2 separate regions of the Homo sapiens genome follow, and region 2 is linked to region 1. The links are contacts of gene promoters, found by promoter capture Hi-C in blood cells and fetal thymus (Javierre and others, 2016). All regions are on one chromosome and are shown on one strand. Each heading gives the region's core, a stretch centred on a gene start or on the middle of the fragment in contact. The rest is flanking DNA. Distances are from core to core; before and after follow the strand shown.

Region 1 (5,147 bases), core at 1-2,500:
GAAGTAGGTGAAGCCAGGAGGGGCTGGTAGGTTGGGCGAAGAGGAAGGTATCAAGGGACTGGAGGAAGAGCAATACATAGTGGGACTGTGAAGGTGGAAAGGACTGCAGAGTCGGGTCTGACAGGGGGGCACCTGAGCTTCGGATTTCCAAGATGGAGCAGTTCTGAGGGATGACACAGCCCAGGCTTTGGCCCTGAGACCTGATGGCTGAGGTGGAGTGGAAGGTCACTGGAGATGAGATGGAGGAAGTAGGTGACCCTGTACTACACAAATTCCCTAGAGGACAGACAGGTTGAGGGTGGAGAGGAAGCCAGAAGTGAGCTTCCAGGAATTGAATGAAAGGGCCCAGGAGATTGGACAATGAGGAGGTGTGCGGGCCTCAGAGGGCAGGGGGCACACAAAGACTAACCAAGGGGAGGAAGCTGACCGCAACCGCCCCGAGGACAAGACGGGCGTCCTCGGTACAGGGCCATGTTTAGTGACGGCAGAAGGGAGAAAGGAAGCTCCTGGGAGCACAGGGGGAAGGGGAGCCGGAAGCCAGAGCCAGGGCTGGGGCCACGAAGGACAGACGGCCGGTGTTGGAGGCGGAGGCTGGCCTGGGATGTGAGGCTGGGGTTGGCCGGCCTCCAGGCTCCCCGGGAGCCCCTGCTGAAAGTCTGTGGGCGCTGGCCTGGGCGAAGCCGCGGTCCCCCGCCTGTGGGCTCAACTCTGCGCTCTGCTTCAAGCAAACGCACTAGGAGAGGAGTCAGGAGACGAGGAACTGCGGGGCCCCACCTCGCGCGGGCAACCGCTGTCTGTCCAGGGAGGGCCCAGGCCTGTCTCCGCAGATAGCTTTGAAGCAGGGCCCCCGGTGTGGCCCTCTGGAGGCCTCCCGCGTCCCCTTTTGAGGGGCTGCCCTGCTTGGCCTGGGGAACACAGCGAAGGGCACCTCGTGGAGCCCAATTTAGGGACAACACATTAATTCTGGAAATTCCAGATTCTTTCCGGGGGTCCTCAACCGGCCGGGGTCGGAAAGGCCTGGCAGGGCTCCGCCGGCAGGGGGCGCTCGGGACAGGGGGGCGAGGGGGGCGGACATCCGTTGCGGGGCGCTGCCTGCGCCGGGCCGGCCAGCCCTTGAGGCGAGCACGGCCTGCGGGGCCGATGAGGCCGGGGCCGGCCGGGGCGGGGCGGGGCCAGGGGCGGGGGAAGGAGTCCGAGGGGCGGGGCGGGGGCCGGCAGCCGCCCTCCCTCACTCTCCCTCCCTTTCTTTCTTTCTTTCTTTCTCTCCTTCTAGCTCTCTTGTCTTTTCTTTGCCTCTGCAGCGGCCAAGGGGGCGGGCCCTGCAGCCTTTGTTGCCCGCGGACCGAGCGCAGCCGAACGGAGTCGGGGCCGGGTCGCCGGGAGCTGCACGCCGGCCGGGCATGTCCTGAGCCGGACCTGGGACCAGGCAGCGACCGGACGGGACGGACGAGAGCGTGCGCGCGGGGTCACCCGGCGGCCGCCCGGTTCCTGCCATGCCCGGCGGCCCCAGTCCCCGCAGCCCCGCGCCTTTGCTGCGCCCCCTCCTCCTGCTCCTCTGCGCTCTGGCTCCCGGCGCCCCCGGACCCGCACCAGGTGGGTGTCCGCCCCTCCCCGGCCAGCCGGGCCTGCCACCCCTTCCCGCTCCCCCAGTCTCGGTTTTGTCCCTCCTCACCTTTGTGGACCCCGCGCCGGCTCCGCTGTGCCTGGAGTTGGTCGCGTCTTCCGCTCCCTGGGTATTAGGGGACAGTAGTCGGGGTCGGGCCGGGCCGGGAGCGAAGCCGCGCTTCTGGGGAAACTTCCTCGGCCCCTGATTCAGTTACTGACACTGCCTGTCGCCTGGAATAAGCCCCTTCCGCTCTTCGGGCTCCGGTTTCCCCACCTCGGGTGCAGCAACGCGCCTGGCTCCCGGGAGAGCTCTCGTCCGAGTGGGCTGGACGGAGCGCGGTTTACCCACTGAGGATTTGGTTTCTCACACTCCTTAGCGAGGCTCGCCTGGAAAGCGGGCTGGCCGGGACACAGCCGGCGAGGGCGCCAGGTCGCAGGTCTTCGCGGGACCCCGCCGCCCCCCCAGCTCCCGCCCACCGCATCTGGGCTGCTGGCGCGGCCCCTGGCGGCTCGGGGGGCCGGGTCTTGCGCGGTCCTTGCACTTCCTGCCTCTCCCTTCCCCAAGTGTGAAGACGCCGGGAGTGGAGCGGGGAGCAGGAGCTTCTTTTCCCGGCCATGGGTTAACTCTCCCCGCCCCGCCGGGCCGGCCTCCGACGAGCCTCTGGCCTGCGTCCAGACTCTTGTTTGGCGGCGACCTGCCGGGCGGCCGCGCTGCTGGCGCGTCCGACGCAGCCGGCCTGGGAATTCAGTAACCGAGGATGTAGGAGACCCCAGGCCCGGTGCTCAGGGAGCTCCCAGTCAGGGGAGCCGGTGGATAGTGGGGAGAGTCCTGCAATAGAGCCGACCGGCAGGCTTTGTAGGAGAGGAGGGGCATGAGGTTGGAGAGACTGGAAGGATGGATGGATTCTGGATGAGCTAGAAGGGCGTGGAGGGAGTGGGGCCCTCCCCTGGGGAGCATCAGTCGGGGGACTGGATTAGGGTTGCTTGCTGGGATGGGGTCGACCTGCCTCCCCACTGGAGGGATTGTGACGAGAAAGTAGTCTGGGCGGGAAGGATGGGGACATTGACTCTTGATCTTAGAGGTTTGGGAAGCCGTTGAGGGGAGCAGCTGATGAAAGCAGTGTTTTGGAAAGATTTGGTCTAGCAGCCATGCGCAGAGCGCAGAGGGAGCGAACATTTAATGAGCACCTACTGTGTGCCAGCCTCACGGGTTCTTATTTCTCATCATCTCCACAACAACCGTGCAAAGCAAGTGATGGAAAGTCCTTTTATGGACCAGCAAACAGGCTCAGAGTAGAGCGACCTGTGGGGTTGGACTCCTGAGCTTCCTGAATGAGGCTTGTGTTTTCCACTGTCCAGAGCTGGGGGCTGAGGAGGATGAACCGGGCGATGGGAATGGGAGAGCAGGAAAATGCTTCCCTCAGGACTTGGGTCCTGGCCCCCTGGCAGCTGTGGGAAGAGTTGGGTGCGGTCAACCTCGTGGGATTCTTATGAGGATTAAATGAGATATTGAATATGTCAGTTGCTCAGGCAGGACACAGTGACTACAATGTAGTGGTCATTATTTTTATTAATCTGCCAGGCCGACCCAGGACTCCCCAGATGACCTGGACCTGCTGTTTGAGGGTGGAGGCAGGCCAGGCACTCTCTCCAACCTAATCTGGGCACAAACACTCCAAGGGTGAAGTCTGTCTCTAGTGTTCCCATAGATATAGAGCATGGGGTCCTTCCTGTTCTGCACTCCCTCAGGATTGGTGACTCTGAGGCTGCTGGCCTGTTTGTCATTTTCTTTGAAGCCCAGGACCTAAGCCTGGGGCTCCTCCTACCACTGAATGTTACCTTCTTTAAGACCAAAGGGCTCATCCTGGGCTCACTTTTAGGAAAATATATCCCTTTTCCCCACTTGTGACTGACCCAGGGACCTGCTAGGGTTTCTGAGGCTGGAGCCCAGTCATGTGTCCTCCTCATGCCGTATGGCACATGTGAACTCTGTGTGCATGTGTTTCTGTGCATACTAGAACTCACAGAGGAGGGCATTCACATACTACCCCCCACCCTGCCAGTTATTTTTCCTCCTTGGCATGAGCTGTGGGTCATTTGAAGGGCTGGATTGTAACTCAGGTTCTTGATAGGGAGGTGAGGGTAAACACCATCTTGGCATTTCTTTGGTAGAAGCTCCAAAGTGACAGTTCTGTCACCCAGGGGAGATATTAAAAGTATTTAACACCCAATGTGGCAGGAGCTTGGTCCAATCAGAACAGACCTCCTGACTTGGCAGAATAGATTTGGCCATGAATCTCTGGCAGTCCTCTTGAATGGTGCCTGTTGCCATCCCACTGTCACTTGAACTCTGCAGGCTCAGCTTTGTTGCAAGCACATAACCGGTCGAGACTGGAACCTGCAATTACTCCTTGCTGGCACTGGGTGGTGCTAGTTTCAGCCACCAACATCTCTACTGAGTGAGGTCAACTAGGCTACAGTGAAAGTTACTTATTTTTAAACTTACCCCTGCACTTTTTAAAAATATTTTAATGGCAAAACAATACAAGTTCACTATAAAAAAAGGTAATGCTGGCGGGCTGCAGTGGCTCATGCTTGTAATCCCAGCACTTTGGGAAGCTGAGGCTGGCGGATCACTTGAGGCCAGGAGTTCGAAACCAGCCTGGCCAACATGGTGAAACTCCATCTCTATTAAAATACAAAAATTAGCTGGACATGGTGGTGCATGCCTGTAATCCCAGCTCCTCGGAAGGCTGAGGCATGAGAATTGCTTGAACCCAGGAGGCAGAGGTTGCGGTGAGCCGAGATCGCACCACTGCATTCTAGCCTGGGTGACACAGGGAGACTGTCTCAAAAGAAAAAATCTGAACAAAACAAGAAAAAAATTATTGCAATAAAAGTGGCAACATCCTGTAAGTCTATTCTTTTATTGTTGATTGAAAAACATGTTTTAGACCAGACACAGTGATTCACACCTGTAATTCCAGCACTTTGGGAGGCCAAGGTAGGCAGATCGTTTGAGCCCAGAAATTCAAGACCAGCCTGGGCAGCATAATGAGACCCCATCTCTACAAAAAAATTTAAAAATTATCCAGGCCTGGTAGTCCACGCCTGTAGTCCCAGCTATTTGGGAGGCTGAGGTGGGAGGATTGCATGAGCCCAGGAGGTCAAGGCTGCAGTAAACCACGATCGCATCACTGCACTCCAGCCTGGGAGATCTCAGAAAAAAAAAAAAGAAATAAATAAATAAAAACATGTTTTTTGTTTTGTTTTGTTTTGTTTGTTTTTAAGCCATTAGGCAAACAGATAAAACAACAAGTTTTTAAAAGAAAAAGCTAAATATACTTTAGAAGTTCTCTTGCTAATTTTCAGTCATAACTTAGCTCACATTTGCTATGTGCCAGCTGTTGTTATAAGCACTTACATACTAACTCATTTAATTCTTACACAACCAAAGAGAGCAGCTGTAATTATTATCATCCCCATTTTACAGATGGAGAAACTGAGATTCTGAGTGGTTGAGTAATTTACCCATGGTCTCA
Region 2 (5,556 bases), core at 126-2,625, 380 kb before region 1:
GTTACCATTAAAATAAGGACTAAGACAAGAACACAGCCGGTCCTATTGTTGTGAAACATTGTTCTGAAGGGCTTGGTCAATGCCATAAGGCCTGGTAACAAATCGGATGCAAAATTATAAGAGAGAAGATGACAAAACTATACTCATTTTCAGGCAATATGATTTTCTACCTGGAAAAAAAATCCATTCAAGTTTAATAAAGTTGATTGTTCTATAAAGAATATATAAATATCAATAACATTCCTAAATATCATCTATAATTAGAAAATATGATGGGAAAATATGCTATACACATTTCATATGAATATATGTATATATAGGTATGTGAATGTGTATATATGAAAATAAACTTAGTAAGAAATATGTAAGTCCTATAAGAAAAAAATGCTAACATTCATTGAGAAAGTCAGGGGAAGACTTTATTTATTTATTTAGAGACAGGGTCTCGCTCTGTAACCCAGGCTAGAGTGCAGTGGCACCATCATAGCTCACTGCAGCCTCAAACTCCTGGCCTCAAATGATCCACCTGCCTCAACCTCCCAAAGTGCTGGGATTACAGGCATGAGCCACTGTGCCCAGCCAGAAGATTTTAATAATTAGAAATATAGGGCATTTCCTTGAGGCAGAAGATTATATTATAAAGATGTCTAATCCCAATAGAAATCATAACCAAATTTTATAACACTTATTTTTAAAGTTTGTACAATGAAAAATGAGTAAAGAAAAAAAACAAGATAATATCCGAAATACAAAAGCACTGAGAGGTAACTGAGCTTATAATGTATCAATATGCCCTGCAAAGCTTCAATACTTAAAACAGTGCACTGTCAATGTGAGAAACGACAAATCAATGGAAAGTCCTGAAATGGCTGACTGTGCACATAAGTAACAAAGCAAAATATCTACATTTTCTGTCAAACTCTGGTGGGATTTTTGGAAGCTACAAAAATGCCAAAATGGCAGGCAGCTCCAAGTGATGGAGACTTAAACCTGACCACTATGTTAAGGCTGGCTGGTTTTTCCTTCTGGCATAATTTCCTGAAATGACCCTTCAGTCAAGTAAGCACCAAGTCAATACTGGGGGACAAGATGTGTAAAACACCAGTGTGGCAGAAACAATGGCATCCATCAAACATCCATCAGCCTCCTGCTCATCCCCACCACCACCTCCTTGCCAGCTGCCTTATTGCCGGCCAGAGCCATGTGACCAGCTCTGGCCGGGGCTATGGCAGAGAGTGACAGGTGCTACTTTCAGCCTAAAACCTAGAAGAGCCTGGTGTGACCTTCCAGATGTCTCTTCCCCTGCCATGGCAACCAAGGAAGCAAGTATTTAAGAGAATGCCGTCCGTCACACAGTAACAAAGCCTCCGTGACTCGCTCCCTGTGTGGAGTGGAGTCTCCTGCTGACCCTTAATGGACAGGCAGTGTGAAGGAAAAATGAACCCTTGTTGTGATAGGCCACTAAAATACTGGGATTTATGAGTGACTGTAGGAGAACCCAGCTTATTCTAGAACCCAGCTTATTCTGACTAACACCACCAGTCATCTGGATGTTGGCATTTCAGAGCACAGGTTCCAGCACATGCTGCACAACAGAATCATCTGGGAGCTTTTTGAAAATGCCAGTTCCTGGGCCAACCCTTTAAGAGCTTCTGACTCTGTCGCTCTGAGTGTGGCTCGGACATCAGTCATTTCAAGTGTTCCCCAGGTGATTAATTGTACTGTGCAGCCGCAGTTGAAAAACCGCAGCTGCCTTTCTTAAGAAGCTCTGTGTCGTGTCGGGTAATGTTACATGTGGTTCGTGTTTGAGTGAGCATCTGCTCTGCAGACTTGGTTCTTCCCAGGCACCAAGAAGCATTCCTGTGTTTTCCACTGGATTGGCACTGTCCTGGGCTTGCATACAGTTGCTGGTGCTTGAGAAGCTGTGTGTGTGCCTTTACGAAGCTTAGATAACAGGCAATCTGAGGCTGGGGAAACGCCATCTTTGCCCTGTGTTAGAGGCACTTCTATAAATAGGCAAGCAGAGCCTGCAGGTGGGAAATTCAACCTGGAATGTGCAGTCAATGTCCTGCACACCAAGCATTCAAAACTAAGACCCTCTTGGCTTTTGGAGGCAGGCTGATCTCACATTCCTGTATTCTGATGCCACGTCCCTACTGGGGTCAGGAGAGGAGCCGACACTGTGGGCGGGATTTCTGTTGAAGACAGTGACCGTTTCTGCTGTCACCATCAGCCTGGGACCAGGGTGTCAGGCATGGAGTCTGGATTCTAGGGACTGCAGACGGCTTATGAGGCTCTCACACTGCGAAGTGAGGCCCACGGCCTGAGAGAGGCCCAGTGCTAGGCAAGGAGACCATCACATCAAATCACAACTCTCTGTTGTGAAACTTGATCCTGAAAGTTTTGTATAGTCTCATCAAAATTTACAAGCTGGTTTCTGCGCCACTTTGGAAATTAAGGGGCCCTGTGCTTGCGATGGAATCATAAAGGATGTCTCCTCTCTTGTCCCCACCCCAGGCCTGCACAGTGGCAGCAGCTGTGGCCAGAGGGACACCAGTGGACACAGAGGCCCAGGGAGAGGAGCAGAGGCCAGCAGGAAACAGCAAATGCAGAGGCCCAAAGTGACCAGGACACCGTCCTTGTGCACATCCTGGGAGGAGCCGACGTCTAAAGAAGGGCTGAAGCCTGAAAATCTGGCATGACTAGAGCTCAAAGTCATGGCTGCTTGGGGCACTGTTAGAAATGTGCCTCCTTGTGTTCTCCCAGTGATGTGATAAAGGTGGCATCTCACTGAAAAGGACCAGGGTTAGGAGGGCTCAGGAGCTATGGGGTGGCCCAGGGACAGAGAGCTGCTCATCAAAATCAGTGTCAAAGCTGCATGTGCAGCCCTGGTGCTCGGGGGGCTCTGGTGCAGGGTGTGCTGTGGCGTTCCTCGACGACGATGTTGCTTTACTGGGGGAAGTATCCTGGTACTGGCAGGGTCAGAAGAGGGTAGTGAGGAGTGTGGTGCTTCTGGGAGCCATGTGAATTGAAGTGGAATAATTAGCCAGGCATGGTGGAGGGTGCCTGTAATCCTAGCTACTCAGGAGGCTGAGGCAGGAGAATCACTTAAACCTGCGCAGAGGCTGCAGTGAGCTGAGATCACACCGCTGCACTCCAGCCTGAGCGACAAGAGTGAAACTCGGTCTCAAAAAAGATATAGATAGATATAGATAGATACAGATGATAGATAGATAGATATCTGAAAGATTCACAGAGAGTAAATGACAGTGTCCAAACAAAAAGTGTCCTTTCCGCCCTTGCACAGTGCCGCCCCCATTCCAAAAACTCCCTTTCCACTGACCTGCTGCCTGTGTGCATTGTAATCCAGCTCACTCTCTCCCACTCAGAGCTGCCAGGCAGGGCTACAAACACAGGGCACGAAGCTGCCGTCCTCCCTACCTGGCCAGTGGCAAACATCACTAAACCCAGCCACCCTTCCCACCAAACCTGCCCGAGGCCTTGGGCTTCTTCCCATCACAGCGGTCCACACAGCCACCGCCTGCCAGTCAGCATTAGTTACAGCCACCTGACGCTTGTCTTCAAATCCAAGAGAGAGGTGCAGGTCAACTGTGACCCTGGGGCCGAGGCCAAGTCAACCACACCCATTTGTTTGGGTATCACCTATGCTGTGCTCATACTGCAAAGGCCAAGTTGAGCAGTTGAGACAGAGACTGTGTGGCCCACAAAGCCTAAGATATTGACCACCTGGCCCTTTACAGGAAAAGCCTGCCAACCCCAGTTAGAAGCAAAGCATGCTCAAATTTGTATTTTTTTTCCCAGAATAAGATTGTCATTAAACTTATAAATAGGGTTTCTTAACCTATTCACACAGTGAAATGCAGACAGCCCGAGAGTTGTTATCTAAACTAAAAAAGAAGAGAATGGGAAAACCTAATTATCCTGGATGTCACATGCTGACTCCAGGGGTGACTATACTTTAGTTGACTCAACCTTGGTTTGGAAACTTGCTTTCACTCCCTCCCTGGAGTCAGAAGCCTTCCCAGACAGCATGTTCTCTGGTCTTGGTCTTCGAAGCTACGGGGAGTTGTGCCAAGGAAGCTCACCCTCCACAGGCCTAGAGCACGACGATGCCAGGGTCAGGTGTTGCTAACAGCCCTTCCCTCTCTTCCACCTCCTCAAGCCCCCTCCCCAGGAACAGTGGAGGGAGAATGAAAGAAGGCACAGTTTCACCTTCTCCATCTGCCTTGGAAGCCGCAACATCTGCCTTCCAATTAGGATGGAGTTACCGGGGTGACGGGGTTGGCTAGCAGGCCCCTCGGCTCCTGACTCCTCTGGGGCAGCCCCCTGCTCTAATGAAGAGCTAATTAACATGAAAAGCATTGATTTAGCCAACTGCTGCTTGTATAATCACAAGGCACTCTCAGCAGCAGCTTCAAAGCTGTCTCTCCCTTCAGAACACAGGATTCGCATAAAGCGTGGGACTAAACCCTCCCCGTGTTTTTAAACAGTGATTTCCCCACACTCCTGAAGTGAAAACACCAGCTCTGTAAGTCGACCACGTAGGCGCCCCTCTCGCTGCCTTCAAGGGGAACTCTGGTGGGTTTGGTAAATGTTAGTACTTGCCCGTGTGACCCAGAGATTGGGTTAGGAATCAGGTTCCATCTTCTCTCCTGGCTCACAAACGTGTGTGTTGCCAAGAACTAGTAGGAGGCCATGGCTGTGCTCTAGCTGTCTCAACAGAGAAGTAGCTTAAACCCTTACAGTGAGGGGTGGGGTGCCTTAACTATAAGGAACAAAGGCATGAGAGGCCTCTAAGACAACATCTGCATGGATTTGTTTGACTCCCTCATCCCAAATGATGATCATTCATCTCCCTGATCATCCATGTGGGAAAGTTTGAGGCCAGATACCAGCTCGAAGCAAGACCAAGAAATTCAGGCTCTGGCTTGGTAGACTTCTGAGGTAGAGTGCCGTATGAACCATACTTTTACTGTCTGAAAATTGATCTTTAACATCTACAGGATGGCTACTAGCTGCTCCCATGTAAACCCTGCAGTACCCGAAAACATCCAGAGACTTTAGATAGCCCCCAAACCAGCCACAATGGATGGGATTTTGCAGGGGCACCACCTCCAAACATAGCGGGCCAGTCTGCCTTATGGCCAACCCTTGTGTTCCAGTGGCCCAGCTTGGTGTGCCATGTTCTCACCAAAGGACTATCAGTGTCATAAAACTGTGAAACTCTTTCTAGTTTCTCTCTTGACCTGCATCTGACCTCAGCAGACTTCACCCAAGGTAGCATTGGTTAGAAGAAAGCAAGTGGAGCCCATGATTCTAAAACTGTGACGACGGAAGGGTCATTCATCAAAGGTTTTGACTGAAGGAAGTGAATTGGAAGCCAAGGGAAAATTCCAAGAAAGAAAAGGACTTAACTGAAAAAAGGTCATTATAGACTCAATCCCTTTCCTTTATTTATAAGTTTAATAGATTAGTTTGGAATTTGTTGAAGATACTTTTCATCCAGATTTCAGGGAGGTACATAGCATGGTAACC

The links. Contacts are between HindIII fragments. The CHiCAGO score rates a contact against its expected background, and 5 or more counts as called.
Region 2: a contact is called between a fragment that was not itself captured here and the fragment with the promoter of ADAMTS7 in region 1, in 1 of 17 cell types (total B cells). The highest score is 5.3, in total B cells.

What each region holds. Positions count from the first base shown.
Region 1 is chr15:78,807,567-78,812,713 of GRCh38, reverse strand. ADAMTS7 (ADAM metallopeptidase with thrombospondin type 1 motif 7) reads left to right here and starts at 1,250. Exons shown (of 24, transcript NM_014272.5): 1 at 1,250-1,593. The coding sequence starts at 1,494. RefSeq lists a silencer at 803-1,222. The HindIII fragment of the contact is 7,795 bases long and covers 1-5,147 here.
Region 2 is chr15:79,189,064-79,194,619 of GRCh38, reverse strand. It overlaps ANKRD34C-AS1 (ANKRD34C antisense RNA 1), which reads left to right. Exons shown (of 2, transcript NR_038997.1): 2 at 2,518-2,913. Among named protein-coding and RNA genes, the nearest start is that of MIR184, 18 kb to the left of the region's middle. The HindIII fragment of the contact is 1,142 bases long and covers 805-1,946 here.